Linked DNA regions of Homo sapiens: region 1 is linked to region 2. Evidence: promoter capture Hi-C in human tissues and cell types (Jung and others, 2019). All regions are on one chromosome and are shown on one strand. Each heading gives the region's core, a stretch centred on a gene start or on the middle of the fragment in contact. The rest is flanking DNA. Distances are from core to core; before and after follow the strand shown. Region 1 overlaps CRTC1 (CREB regulated transcription coactivator 1). Region 2 holds the start of CRLF1 (cytokine receptor like factor 1).

Region 1 (6,929 bases), core at 315-2,814, 140 kb before region 2:
CTGCCCTGCCAGGTGTCTAAGCCCTCTGTGGTCAGGTATAACCTTCCTCAACTCCTGCCTTGAGAGCTGTTCCCTGTGCCCCTTGAGCCCCCAAGTCTGGCCAAAGGCTCCAGGGCTTGTGGCACAGCCTCCTCCAGGAAGTCCCCCAGGCTGCCCTGAGATCAAGCCTCCCAGATGGTGCTGCCCTGATTCTGTCCCCAGAGCTGGAAGCAGGCAGCCCTGTCAGAACCTGCTGGGTAAACTTGGGGTCCTGCCGGCACCGACAGGGCCTGGCCCCCACCCTCATCCTCTGGTGAAAAGGATATCTGCCGTCCGTGTTTGTCCACTGACAGGGGCCGGCGGTGTGGGGAGCCGAGCCGGCCACGCTCCCGGTACACCCTGTCCACCAGCCCATGGTGCCGGGTGGTCCGGCTGGTGTCCAGGCCCGAGGATTGGAAGGGGGTCTGGGGGAGGAGGAGATGGAAACAGAGAGAGAGAAATCCAAACAATGGTTACCAGCTGTGGCCCCAGCGCTGGCCCCAGAGTCTGATCGCAGGGCCCCCCACTCTGGAGCACCCTCGGCCATCGCTCCACAGCCTGGGATGGGCTTCTTCCTTCAGCCCCAGCTCCCTGGCTCTCCAAGCACTGGGGGGTAGGGAGGGGGTGTGAGCTGGGGTCCCGGGAGCCAGGGTGGCAGGGGCGTGCAGTGCAGCTGGCATGCACAGGCCAGGCAGAGCGGCACAAGCTCGGGGCCAGCGCCCGCCGGGTGCCAGGGATGTAGCCGGCCTAGGCAGCCCTCCTCCCCAGTCTCACCAGGTGCAGACAGGCCTCCGCCCTCTCTCTCCGGGCCTGGACGGCCTCCTACCCCCACCTACGTCATCCCTGGAGGGGCCTGCCAAGAGACAGCCCAGGGGCTTCCAGCCCAGGACTGTTTCGGGGCCCACCTGGCCAAGCGCGAGTTCCTGGGAGGCTTCCTTGTGGAGCCCAGGGCTGCTCTTGATTGAGACGCGGCCCCCACACACCCTCCCCCGCAGCCTCCTCCAGGCACTCCAGGCACCACCAGAGCCAAGTACAGGCGCCTTCCGGAGCCATGGCCCACTGCTTGGCTGGATGGGGCTTCCTCCCAGCACCTGGGGCTGGCACCAGGCTGGCCCTCCCCAGGCCCTGCTACATGCCCGGCCTCATGCCCCCGGGGCTGCCAGGAGCCCGCCCTGACCCTGTGTTGCCCACTTGCCATCTGACTGGGGTGAGATCAGCAGGCTCTGCCAGCTTTGGATGCAGCCAATCCCCCAGTCCGGCCATCTGGCCCCTGAGCCCTTATGCCTTCTCTGGGCAGCCGGGCAAAATGAGACTCTGATACTAAAGTGAGTCTCCTCTCCAGAAGCCTGTCCATGGCTAGGATTGCTGCTTTGTCCCAGCCTCGGCCAGAGTTCAGGGCTGACTACTGTCCCCAGCCCTGGGGACCCCCAAGTCTTTCTTCGATCCAGCATGAACTCTGCTGGTTTGGGTCTTTCCGTGGCTCTTGCCCCCAAAAGGCTGTGGGCATGGGAGACGTGGGCCTGTGACGATGAGGGTGGGAACTGTGCTGTCCAGTGCACAGGCTCCTCAGGGTAGGGGCAATTCATCTCCTTCCAGAGATGCCTTGAAGCCCAGAGGGAAACTGAGGCAGCCAAAGCCAAGTCAGAGGCAGAATGAAGCGGGGGCTGGCCACACCCGGGCTCGCCACGTCCTGCCTGCTGGCCTGGTTTGGGAGATGCGTGCACACGTGTGTGTATGTGTGTGTGTGTGTGTGTGTTTGTGTGTGTGTGTATATAGGGACGGACCATGCAGCTTTGGGGCACATGCTGGGATTCTGCTCTGCTGGACCCCAGATGGGGATGCGCGGCTATGGCATCTGCCCCAGATGGACCCCAAGAGTCCCCAGGGCCTCTCGACGCGACCATACGCACTTCCCGAGATGGGGGTGCGGAGTGGATCCATTTCCATTTGGCGGACGGGACACCTCCACCTCCCTGGGAGCCGCAGGGGCGGCCGCTTGGGGAGCTCAGGGATCCCCAGCGCCCGCACACGGGTCGGGGTCTTGCAGGCTGGCGCCGGGGACGCCGCGGCCTCAGCCTGGGGGCTCATTTACCAGAGAGACAGGAGCCGCTGCCAGGGCCTCCCCCAGAAATCCGCTGGGCTGAAAATGCAAAGAACCGAGACTTTGAGACGCTGCTGCCTTGCCTGGCCCCAAAGGCGGGATGCGTGGGACCTCCCCCCGGGCTGTGGGCCTCGGGCGACAGACACCCAACAGGGTCCTGTGCCCCTCAGCCCCACTCAGGCTGAGCTTGCAAGGTGCCCAGAGAGAGACTCTCCTCCAGGGAAGAGGGGACAGGAGAAACAGGAAAGGGAGAGAAGGGCAGGAGGGGAGAAAACCTGGCCAGGAAGGGCTGTGACAAAGAACACGCCCAGCATCAGTGATGGCCCGCACTCTGTATGCCGGAGGAGGCGCACCGTGGTGGCCAGCCCAAGGATCCCTGCCCTGTCCAGCGGCGGTGCAGGTGGCGGTGGAGCTGGTGGGTGACTTGGGAGGGGCCCCGGCTCCATCTGGCCTGTCAGTGGCCATGGCTGTGTCCGAGGTGGTTTTCTCAGCCACAGAGTAGGTGTGACCCCCCCCCAGGGGGACCTGTCCATGCAGAGCCCAGACACCGTCCTGGGGGTGGCCCTGATTCATAGGCCAGCTCCCTCGGCCCCACCCCATCCCCATCTCCACCCGCAGACCAGGGACAGGGAAGAGGGCCGCTGTGGGCCTTATCTCCTGTTTACGATAAGGCTGTGCACGGCGGCTGTGCGGCCTGCGGGAGCCGCGCTGTGTGGGCCTCTGCCAAGAAACGTTTGCAGACAAGTGGGGTCAGGCCGCCGGGCCTCCTTCTGAGAATTGCTGGGCTTGCGGATTAGTGAGGCAGGACAGAGCCAAGCCCCAGTGGCCCCGAGCGGTTCCCGCTGCCGCACAGCCGGCCAACAGGTGTAGCGGCTGCCGAAATGCTGGAGGCCAGATGGAGGGCTCGCCTCGGGGTCTGCTGATGGGGAATGGGCTGCGGGGGCACCCTGGTGGGGCCACTCTGCTTCCTCTGGTTCCCAGGGCAGACAAGGAGAAGGCAGTGGTTGGGTGGGCTCCGCCAACTGTCTGATAACCCCAGCTGTCCTCAATGTCTGGCCCCCAGTGGGAGGCTGGGGGAAGCTCCCCACAATGGGGCAGGGCCAGGGGGCGGGGCACTCACCTGGAAGGGCAGGTCCATGGTGCCACTCCCGATCTGGTTCACGTTGGGCAGGGACCCGCCATAGTACTGGCCTCGGCTGGGGCCCAGTTGCAGGTACTGGGATTTCTGGAGCTGGAGCTGCGAGAGAGAAGCCAGCAGCTGCGGGAGGGGTCACCTCCCAGGCTCACCTCAGAGTGCCAGCCCCAAAGGCACAAAAAGACCCAAGTGGTGGGATTGACAGCCTAAGTGCAGAAGTTTGCAGGACCTCATGACCCAGATGCTTAAGGAAACCAGGTGTCCCTCCACCAAAAATGGCAGAATCAGAAACCCGAGGTGCCGGGACGGCTCCCCAGGCGGGGCAATGCACCATGCAGAAACCCATGACCGTGAACCTGGGGAGCTGGCTGCCTTGCTGCTGATTCGGTCAGTCAGTGAATGGGCAAGAGAGGCACTGGCGGGCCTGCAGCCTGCCAAGGAGGCCCCTCACCAGCCCAGGGGAGCCATTTCTTATCACGGCCAGAGGCTGTGACTTGGCAGGCCAGGCGGCTTCCCACTGGCCTGAATCGGAGGAAGCTGTCTCAGAAGCGTGGTGATGGCCTTCAAAGCGTGGGACTTGTGATCCCGACGGCAGCCCACACAGAGCCAGGGCAGCCAAGTCAGTCCCCCAGACCCAGCTTGAGTTCTAGAGGGTCCTGAGCCCCATGTTCCTTCCTCATGGTCCTTCCCAGCCTCTTGGGGGCTGGGCCCAGCTGAGCGCCTTCATCTCAGCTGCATCCCTGCTTCCCACTCCCTGATGGCATCGGGGCACAGAACCAGGGGCCAGGAGCTCCCTGATGGGTCACGCTGACTCTGAACAGGGCTGGAAGCTGGCCTCCTCCCCTTCATGTGGCTGATGCTGATTTGCCAGTAACAGAGGCCCCTGACCCATGTGGCACGACCCGAGGCCCTTGGGGATGCTGGTCCATGATGCCTGCCATGCAACTGGGGGAGGCAGCCACCGTGAGGAGAGGTGGGGCTGGGCAGGCAGGAAGGAGGGGTGGTTGTCCACTCTGGCCCGGCAGGGGCGGTTGCTAGGGTGGACACTGTGTACACAACAAGGCCGACTCGTTCCTTACAAACAGCTCCTGGCAGTGCGTGGAGAGCTGGCTGCCCCACCGCCCCAGCTTCCTAGGGGGCCCTGGACACCGGAGGCGGAAGTAAAGCCCGGGAACTGGCCACCTGCCCGGCTGAGCACCTCGCCCAGGTAAACAGCTGTTTCCTGTGAGCTGAAGTGGAGCCGATGGTAAGATTAACCTTGTGTGTTATTGGGTGGCTCTCGAGGGCCTGGGGGTGAGGCCCAGGGTCTGTGCTGGGAGCCCTTGGTGGCCGCTGGCCAGACACATACACAATGAACATCCACAGTGTCCCTCCCAGCAGTCACACCAGATGAAACAGGCCAGCTCCGGGCTGTGGCAGAGGGAGGGGGTGTAGGGTGGGGGTCCTACAGCTCCCACCCCACACCTACCTGGGCATAGGTCGCCTGTGGCCTCCCGTGACTTTCTCCACCCTCTTCTGTGTCCAAGTAGCATGACAGAAACCTGTGCTACATTCACCTCTCACTGACTATATGGCCCTAAAGGCTGTGACCCCTCCTGGACCTGTGTCCCCGACCTAGAGTGAGTGCTACAGGCGGGTGTGAGAGGGACACACGACGTGTGACACAGCAGGTACTCATGCCACATGTGCTTTCTACACGGGCTGAGCTGCCAGCTCCCAGGAGGCCAGACATCAGGGGCAAGAACTCCCTGAAGCAGCTTTGTTTACACTATGTCCCCGGGCCACAGGAAACCTGGGATGCGGGGACAATCTACAGGACTGGGGACACACAGAACTCTCATGGTTCCCAAGCCCCATCTCTGTCCAAACCTTGCCCACAATTCCCAGCTCCTGTCCACTTTGCTGGAGGCACTCAGGCTTCGGAGCACAGCCCCTGGGCCAGGAGTGGACACTGAGTGGGGACTCTGCTTTTCTTTTTTGTTGTTGTTGTTGTTTGTTTGTTTTTTTGAGATGGAGTCTCGCTCTGTTGCCCAGGCTGGAGTGCAGTGGCGCCATCTTGGCTCACTACAACCTCCATCTCCCAGGCTCAAGTGATTCTCCTGCCTCAGCCTCCGAACTAGCTGAGACTACAGGCACCATGCCTGGCTAATTTTTTTTTTTGTATTTCTAGTAGAGACAGAGTTTTTCACCATGTTGCTCAGGCTGGTCTCAAACTCCTGACCTCAAGTGATCCACCCGCCTCGGCCTCCCAAAGTGTTGGGATTACAGGAATGAGTCACCGCGCCTGGCCTCTGCTCTTCTTTTGGGGAACCCCATGCTCATTCTTGGTTTTGCATGAGGAGTTGTACAGCAAAAGGGTTAAGCTGGCCCCAAGAGAGGTCTGACCTTTGTCCCCAGCTCCTGGGAGGTGACCTGCAGGAGAATATCCTGCCTGATAAGAGTGTCATTGTGTGCCTGAGGCCTTGGGCTATGGCAGAGTCTGCTCACACTGTGGTTTTAGGGTGGGAGTTTGGGCACATCAGCTTGACATCTGGAGGGACTAGAGACAGGTTGGCCATGAGGGTGGTCAGCCACGTCTACAGGACCAGCCCCCAGTACAGACCCTGGACATGCAGGCCAGGGGAGCTTCTGCGGCTGGCAGTGCTCCATGCTGGGAGAATTACGCACTGTTCACATGAGGGGCTGACTGGAGGTTCTGGCCTGGTTTCTCCTGGACCCTGCCCATCTGCCTCTTCCCTTGGGTGATTTTTTTTTTTTTTAAGATGGAGTCTAGCTCTGTCATCCAGGCTGGAGTGCAGTGGCACTATCTCGGCTTACTGCAACCTCCACTTCCAGGGTTCAAGCGATTCTCTCACCTCAGCTTCCTGAGTAGCTGGGATTACAGGTATGCAACACCACACCCAGCTAATTTTTGTATTTTTAGTAGAGACGGAGTTTCACCACGTTGGCCAGGCTGGTCTTGAACCCCTGACCTCAAGAGATTCGCCCGCCTCAGCCTCCGAAAATGCTGGGGTTACAGGTGTGAGCCACCACACCCAGCCTCCCTTGGGTAATTTTAATGTGTCCTTTCGCTGCAATAAACCATAAGCATGAACAAAACGGCTTCTGGGGAGTCCTTCCAGTGAATTTTCTAGCCAGAGGGTGGGCACGGAGACTCCTGAGTCTGCAGGAGCTGACTTTCCTCCCCAGCCTGGCTGGAACCCCTGGGAGCAGGGTCCTCCTTTCTCTGGGGTCTCAGGGTGGTGGGACGCCAGCTTGGGCTCTGCCCCCACAGACCTCTGGCCTCAGCTGGAAGAACGGCCAGATGTCACTGCACTGCAGGCAACATCACAGCTTTTCTCATCGCCACATCACAGTCCCCTGCCCCCCACCATGCTGTGCTCCCCAAACCACTGAGACCCTGAGGACGAGCTCCGTGAACCCAGCAGCCAGCCCAGGACCCGCTGCTCAGCAGCGCCTGCCGGCGGAATCCACAAGTGAACAAAGATGTGAGGGGGTGAATGAATGAATGAATGGACGCTGCTGCACCTCCTCCACAGCTGACTTCACAAGCCAGGTGACAGGCCCGTCTGGAGGCTGTACAAGCACTTAAGATTAAAACCCAGGAGGCCTCAGGCGGCAGCTTGGCCACCCCCTTCCTCAGCTGGCCCAGGCAACACAAGCCACCTCAAGGTG
Region 2 (6,663 bases), core at 2,477-4,976:
GAGGCTTCTCAGGGTACAGACGGGCAGGGAAACTGGCCTCCCTGGGGCAGGCCTGCAACTTCCCAGGCAGGTCCCCTAGGCAGGTCTGCAACTCCCCAGGTCCCGCCTCCAGTGCCTGAAGTCCAGTGTGCATTACACTGAGCACCCAGGCATTGCTTCTCCCCAGGCTCAGCCTCCAGGGCAGAAATTATAAAGCCTAGGTACACACGGGCCCCACTTTCCTGTGCCACAGACCCTGAACCAGGTGTCCAGACCCTCACTGCCCCTTAATTCCTGAAAGCACCTGCCTGGAACACCAGGTAGCTAATCCCATACTGGGGAGCCCTGAGCACGGGGCTTTCAGAATGGGAGAGACAGCTCTCAGCCTTCCTCACTCCCAGTGGTTGTGGGTCCCCACAGGACCCTGAAGGTGCCATTTCCACTGCCCCCTCCCTGGTGCACCCTCAGTGCCCTGGAATCACGAGGGAGCTGGGGATGGAGGCCCCCCCCCCAACCTAATACCTCTCATCCAGAGGTGACCTTGGAGTGGAGGGTGCAGGACTAAGGAGGGGTCCCTCCCCCAGCCCAAGGGGAGGCCCTCCCTCTGCCCAAGGGGAGGCCCTCCCTCCTTCTGCCCCTTACACATTCCCAGCCAACTTCAAGGACTTGGGTCAATATTTGCCAGAAGTTCCATTGACGCTAGCTCCCTTTTGTCCTCAAGGAGATAATGGAACTGGGGAGTAAAGGGTTAAACTTCTGGGGGCCCTAAGGGCCGGGAAGGATGCACTCTGGGGTCAATTCCCTTTCCCTGAAGTCAAAGGTGTGGGGTAAAGATCACCCAAGGGCAGAAGTCACACTCCAGGGTGGGGCTGGGCAGGATTGGAAAATGGTCCTTCCCTTCTGTTGGTAAGAACAAGAGAGGGATGTCTACTGGCTAGGGTCACACAGCAAGACACAGAGTGTGGGCCAGGCTAGGACCCCAGGCAGCATGACTTGCTAGGACTGAGTTTTCTTGCTACTTGGAGGGAGTAAGAGTTCTCCATCCTTTACTTTTACAAATATTTAGTGAGTGCTTCGCTTTCAGCCCTCACTGGGCCCACCACTGGGGTCCAAAGGGGCTGAGGCTGCCCACAGTCTAAAGAAAATCAGTTGCACAAGAAATGAAATGGTTGGAAGAGTTGTGTTTCAAAAACAATAAAACAAAGTGAAGGAGAGGGAGAGTGCTGGGGGAAGGGTGGAGGGCCTCTCTGAGGAGGTGGCACTAATCCTGTGAAGTGATGGAAGAGAAAGGGCCAACTGGGGAAGATGTGGGGAACAGCATTCCAGCAGAGGGAACAGCCAACACGCAGAGGCCCTTCTATAGTAACAAGCCTGGTATGTTTTGGGAAACAGGGCTCCAGTGGCTGGGGCGGAATGAGGGAGAGGAGGGGGAAGAGGAGAGGGAAGAAGAGGAGGGGAGAGGATGGCGAGAGGGTGGCAGGACAAAGATCTGCTTTTTCTTCTTTTAAAAGCTCCCTCTGCCTGGTGTGCCGAGAAAGGCAGAAGGGTTATCAGGGAGGCCCTGGAGGAGGCCGGGAAGCATCCCTGAGGGAGACCGTGGGGCCTGGATCTGAATGGGGTGGGAAAAAGGGGTCAGCATCTCAGAATGGAGATGTGTTTTAGAATCAGAGCCAACAGGATTTGCTGATGAATTGGACATGAGGGATGAGCAAAGGAGAGAGTTGTCACGTGCGCTTCCAGGTCTCTGGCCTGAGCACCTGGATGGATGGGAGAGCCCTTTCCCAAAACCAAAATGACTGGAAGAGAAGCAGAAATGGAGGGAGGAAAAAATCAAGGTTTTGCTCCAGAAGCCTGAAGTCCTCCCAGGAGGGAGTGAGGCGTCTCTATCCACACAGAGAGCATCTGCAGACAGGAGCCATGGGGGAGTAGTGGTGAGTATCCTAAAAACTCAATTCCAGCCAAGGACTGCCACCTCCACTTAACCCTCTGGGTCCCCTGGCAGGTGGGACTATGGCTCCATGTTTCAGAGGGGACAAGCAGGGCTGGGGGTCACCTCTGCTCCAGGATATCCTCCAGTGCTGTGCTAAGGGCTTGGATTGTAGAGACTTCTGCTGCCCTGCGTCTTCCCACAGAAGCTCCTAGACTGGGTGGTGCCCACTGTGCAGAGGAAGAAACTGAGGCACAAAAGGCCTGGTTTCCCGAAGTAAATGGCAGCGTCTCTCCTTGTCTGTCTTCTCCATCCAGAATTCAGATGGAGCAGGGGCGCCCTGGGCCCCTATAGGCTCCCATCCCCCAATCTTGTTTTTTGACAGTCTGGAGTCTGAACTGGAGATTTAAGTAGGAGAGGGTGGGGCTTCAGTCTTGGGCAGACAAATGGGGGCTCCTGAGCCCCCCTCAGACACTTTTACCCCCTTGGCTGGTTGGGGACCAGGAGAGAGAATCCAGGCCTCTAAGGGACTCCTGGAAAAGGGGACTTGGAGCCGTTCCCTTCCCTGGGCGCTGCAGCTGGGGGCGGGGCTGCGACCAAAAGTGGGTAATTGCACCCCCCAACTCTCATTTCAGGCACCCCCATCCGCAGCAGCCTTGGAGGCCAGGAACCCTTTATTCCTGGGCGCCCGCATCGGGTGGGGACCGGGAGGAGGGAGATGAGACGCCCGGACCGGGAGGGGTCCCGAAACTCGAGCAATGGCCAAAAATAATAACACGGAGAAGGCTCTTTGCGCAAAAGAAGGAAGACAAACTATGCGTCGCTCCGGGCAGCCGGCGTTACCTGGAGTCGGCGGGCGGTGGCCGCCGAAGCGATTACTCACCGCGTGGCGCACCCCACCCGCGGGCCGCTGAGTGGATTTTTCCGTGGCGGGGTGTGAATAGGTCCCGGGGAAAGAGCTTCTTACCGCTCTCCTCCTGGGAATCCCTCTTACTGCGGTGCGGGACCCAGTTCCCGCGCAGGCCTGGGTCCCGGCTCCCACAGGGGACTACATCTCCCCGTCTGCCCACGCAGGAGCTCCCTCCCGAGGCCCCCGGGGCGCCCAGAGCAACCTCAAACCCATCCCGCGCGCGAAGGGGACAGCGCAGCCAGGGCGAAGGCGAGGGACTCCGTGCCTTCCTGCTTTTTCTCCTTTCTTCCAGCAAAGCCTGGGGCCGAGGCTACTCGCGGAGAATCGAAAAGAGGCAGGATGAGGTGGGAGGGCTGGAACCCGCGCGCCGAGGGCGTGGGGCTGGGGGTGACTTTTAGGCCCCTGGGAAGGCTGAGGGGCTGGAGATGGGGGTAGGCGGGACTCAAGGACCGCTCGGTGGGGGGGGCGGGGCCAGAGCTGGGGTGGGGGCCGAGACAGAAGATTGGGCCGTGGAAGGGGGAATGGAGGAGTGGGGCAGGGTTGGGGACCAAAGGGGCCACTGAAGAGGCACTGGGCTGAGAGGAGGGTGCAGGGAAGTGGGCAGGGTTATGGAAACGGGATTGGGGGTGCCGGGTCCCAGACTGGGGGTGGGAAGCCTGGAGCTGGCAGGGTTGGAGAGGGAGGTCCTGGGCCGGTAGGGGTTGAGTTAGGGGGCTTTGGGCCGCGGGATAGGGCGCGCGCGGTTCTCGGTGGGGCGGAGGCGGGACGGGCGGGGCGCGCGGTGCCCGCGGGCGGGCGGGCGGCGGGGAGGCCGGTGCGGGGCCCGCCGCCCCCCCGGGGCCGGGCCGGGCCGGGGGCGGGGCCGGGCGGGGCCAGCGGCGCATTAGCGCCTTGTCAATTCGGCTGCTCAGACTTGCTCCGGCCTCCGCGTCCGCGCCCAGCGACGTGCGGGCGGCCTGGCCCGCGCCCTCCCGCGCCCGGCCTGCGTCCCGCGCCCTGCGCCACCGCCGCCGAGCCGCAGCCCGCCGCGCGCCCCCGGCAGCGCCGGCCCCATGCCCGCCGGCCGCCGGGGCCCCGCCGCCCAATCCGCGCGGCGGCCGCCGCCGTTGCTGCCCCTGCTGCTGCTGCTCTGCGTCCTCGGGGCGCCGCGAGCCGGATCAGGAGCCCGTGAGTACCCGGCGCCCCACTCCTTCCCCCCTGCCAGAGCAGAGGGCGGGCGCCCCGGGGGCAGCCGCGGGGGGAGGGGGCGCGGGCGCCACCTGGACGGCCGGGGAACAAAGGAAGGCGCCCCCGGCGCAGCCCTCGGGGCGCCCTCACCTGCGGGGCACACGGCGCCGCAGTCCACTGTCCAGAGAGTCCTGCTTCCGCGCCCGAGGCCCTGTTACCTGGGCAGCTGGGCCGAGGGCGCCAGGCCAGGCCCCCGGGGGCTGGGGGGATCGCGGCCTGAGACCCTCTGCATGCCAGGACGTGGCGGGCGCACGCGTCTGCTTCGGTGGACTCTGGGCCCCTGGGACTGCAGGGCACCGCTCCCAGGCGGGGGCGCACGCGGTTGGCGCGCTGGGTGCGGGCCCCCAGCGGGCCCCCCCAGGCGGAGGGATGAGCCCCACGGGGAGGGCGGGGCTGCAGGGGGGCCGCTCTGGCCGCCTGGCGCGCAGCCCGGGGTCCCGGGGGACTTGTGTCTCCACGGGCCGGCGCCACCGCCCTCCCCCTGCGGGACCCGGCGCACGGGGGTCCGCGGAGTCCCCGCCACCGGCGGCGCTTAGAACCGTTTTCAGCCAGGCTGCGTCGGGCGGAGAGCCTCCAGCGAGAGGAATCTTTGTGAGCGAGTGGGTGAGAGGGAGAGGGAGCGGGAGCCAGTGAGTCCGGGCACCAGCGGGCCCAAACTTTGAGGGGGCCCACTGGGAACCCGCTGCCCTACGGGCCAAGACCCCTGCCCTGGAGGGACTTCTGGCCTCAGGCACTCTGGGGCCCCCCATCCAAGGAACACCCCCGCAAGGATACGTCTCCGTATGCAGACCCGCTCTGGGACACACCCAGAGACACACAAAGAATCACACTGGCTTGTGGCCCGTCACCCTCGCCCTCAAACTCGCGCACACTGCATCCCAGGTGCACATTCGCGCACCATCGCGGACGCACACACATTCCATCCCCGACACACACATTCACGGTCACACACATCCCACAGGGGAGGCGACCCAGGGGCACAGAGGCAGGCACCACTCGCCCCAGATGTTCAGTCACTCCACGCACCCCATCCAGGCGCACGGGCCACCCCGGGGGTCGCCGGGCACACACTGCTCCCAGGCTCATCCACCCTGTGCTGGGCTGTTTGCGGGCTGCCTGTAGGGCTCCTCCGGGAAGGGGCAGGGTCCGGGCATCTTCTAGGGGCACTTGCTGAAAGCCTGGCTCTCCCCTGGCTTTCAGGTGAGGGGCTACCTCGGGCCCTCCCAGGGCCCCTGACGGCTCTGCCAGGCGGTGGGCAGCGCCTGTGAGTGCCACTGTGAGCGCCAAGCTTTGTTTTCAGCCAGTAGAGCAGCAGGCGAAGGTGTAGGGGGTGGGGGGGCACTGTAAGTGTGTTTTTTCCTTTAAGGGGGGAAGAAATTAAATAAAAGATTCTCACACCTCGGCAATATGTTTCTACTTACGGTGTGTCTTAGCACCTGACCAGCAGGCGGGTGGGTCGTAAAGTGTCTGCAGGTACCAGCGGGACGGGAGATGGGGACCCCCGTGGGGACCCTGGGATGGAGGCCACCCTTCCGCCCTGCTTGCAGAGAATCTCACACTTTTCCCTTTTAAAACACATGGTGTTCCTTTTTAATAACGGCAGTGGCTCCAGATTGGGAAAAGAGGAGAGAAAAAACTTTTAAAGGCCCCAGCTCTGCGGGAAAGGAGGGGAGGCAGGGAGTGAAAAGGGAGCTGTTCAAAAGCCCAACCTAGGGATCTGCTTTGGGGAGCCCTAGGAGGCCCTCCAAACCAAGCCAAGCCCCCACCAACTCCGGCTCAGTGGGCTGTTCCCAGCTGCTCCCCTGCCTGGCCTGGAGTGCGTGCATCTCTGTCCCCAGCGCCTTAGCCCATTGTTTGTGGAGGCCTGGAGGGAGTGCCTAGTCAGCCGGGACCCCAGAGCTGGGAGGGGCTGTCATCTTTGCAGCTCCTGGGGGCTTCAGGCTTCTGAGCCCTCTGGACATTGGATTGCAATCACATCTCATTGATCTCCCCAGCAAGTAGAACGTATTTCTCCTCCCATTTTATGGAGGAGAAAATTGAGAACTGGAGAGGGGAAGTCAATTGGCCAGGTTCTCCCACTGGTGTTGCGCCCATATCCCGGGAGGAGAAAGTGTCCTTCTGACCTTACCGGCTGGGGCTAAGGGGGTGGGAGATTGGTCTGTCCAGGCCCGCCTGGCCTTGCCTTCCCCCTACAACCCGTCGCCGCCCGGTGTCCCCCGCCCAGCCCCGGGAGGGCAGCTGCAGCTGCTGGCAAGTGAGCCACGCCGGCCCAGGCCAGGCGGGTGTGGCAGAGGGGCAGCGCCCCCCAGCCAGGACCCCCCAGAGAGCCCCTTCCTGCCCAGGCCAAGCTGGCGGGTGGTGGGGGCAGGAGGAGTGAGACCCACTCTAGAAGGGCTGAGAGGGGCCTGGGGTCTGGGCAGGCCTGGCCGTGCCTCCCACTCTGTTGGGGGGGCCCAGGCAGGAAGCGGTGGGTGGGCCGGGGCAGAGACGCTGGCACACCCGAGTTCATGCAAAAGGAATTCCGAATTAGCGGGCGGCTGGCTGCCTGGGACCTCCAGGGCGGTCCCCTGGCCCCCAGCCCCCCGCCCCCCTCGGCCGCCCCCGCCTCCTCGGCTCTGGC

What was found. Contacts are between HindIII fragments. The study calls those that stand out against the background at their distance.
Region 1: a contact is called between a fragment that was not itself captured here and the fragment with the promoter of CRLF1 in region 2, in 1 of the 25 tissues and cell types used here (spleen).

Annotation. Positions count from the first base shown.
Region 1 is chr19:18,739,337-18,746,265 of GRCh38, reverse strand. It overlaps CRTC1 (CREB regulated transcription coactivator 1), which reads right to left. Exons shown (of 14, transcript NM_015321.3): 2 at 3,240-3,356; 3 at 306-443. Among named protein-coding and RNA genes, the nearest start is that of COMP, 49 kb to the left of the region's middle. The HindIII fragment of the contact is 7,147 bases long and covers 1-5,137 here.
Region 2 is chr19:18,603,862-18,610,524 of GRCh38, reverse strand. CRLF1 (cytokine receptor like factor 1) reads left to right here and starts at 3,726. Exons shown (of 9, transcript NM_004750.5): 1 at 3,726-3,983. The coding sequence starts at 3,869. RefSeq lists an enhancer at 3,686-4,604. The HindIII fragment of the contact is 9,492 bases long and covers 1-6,275 here.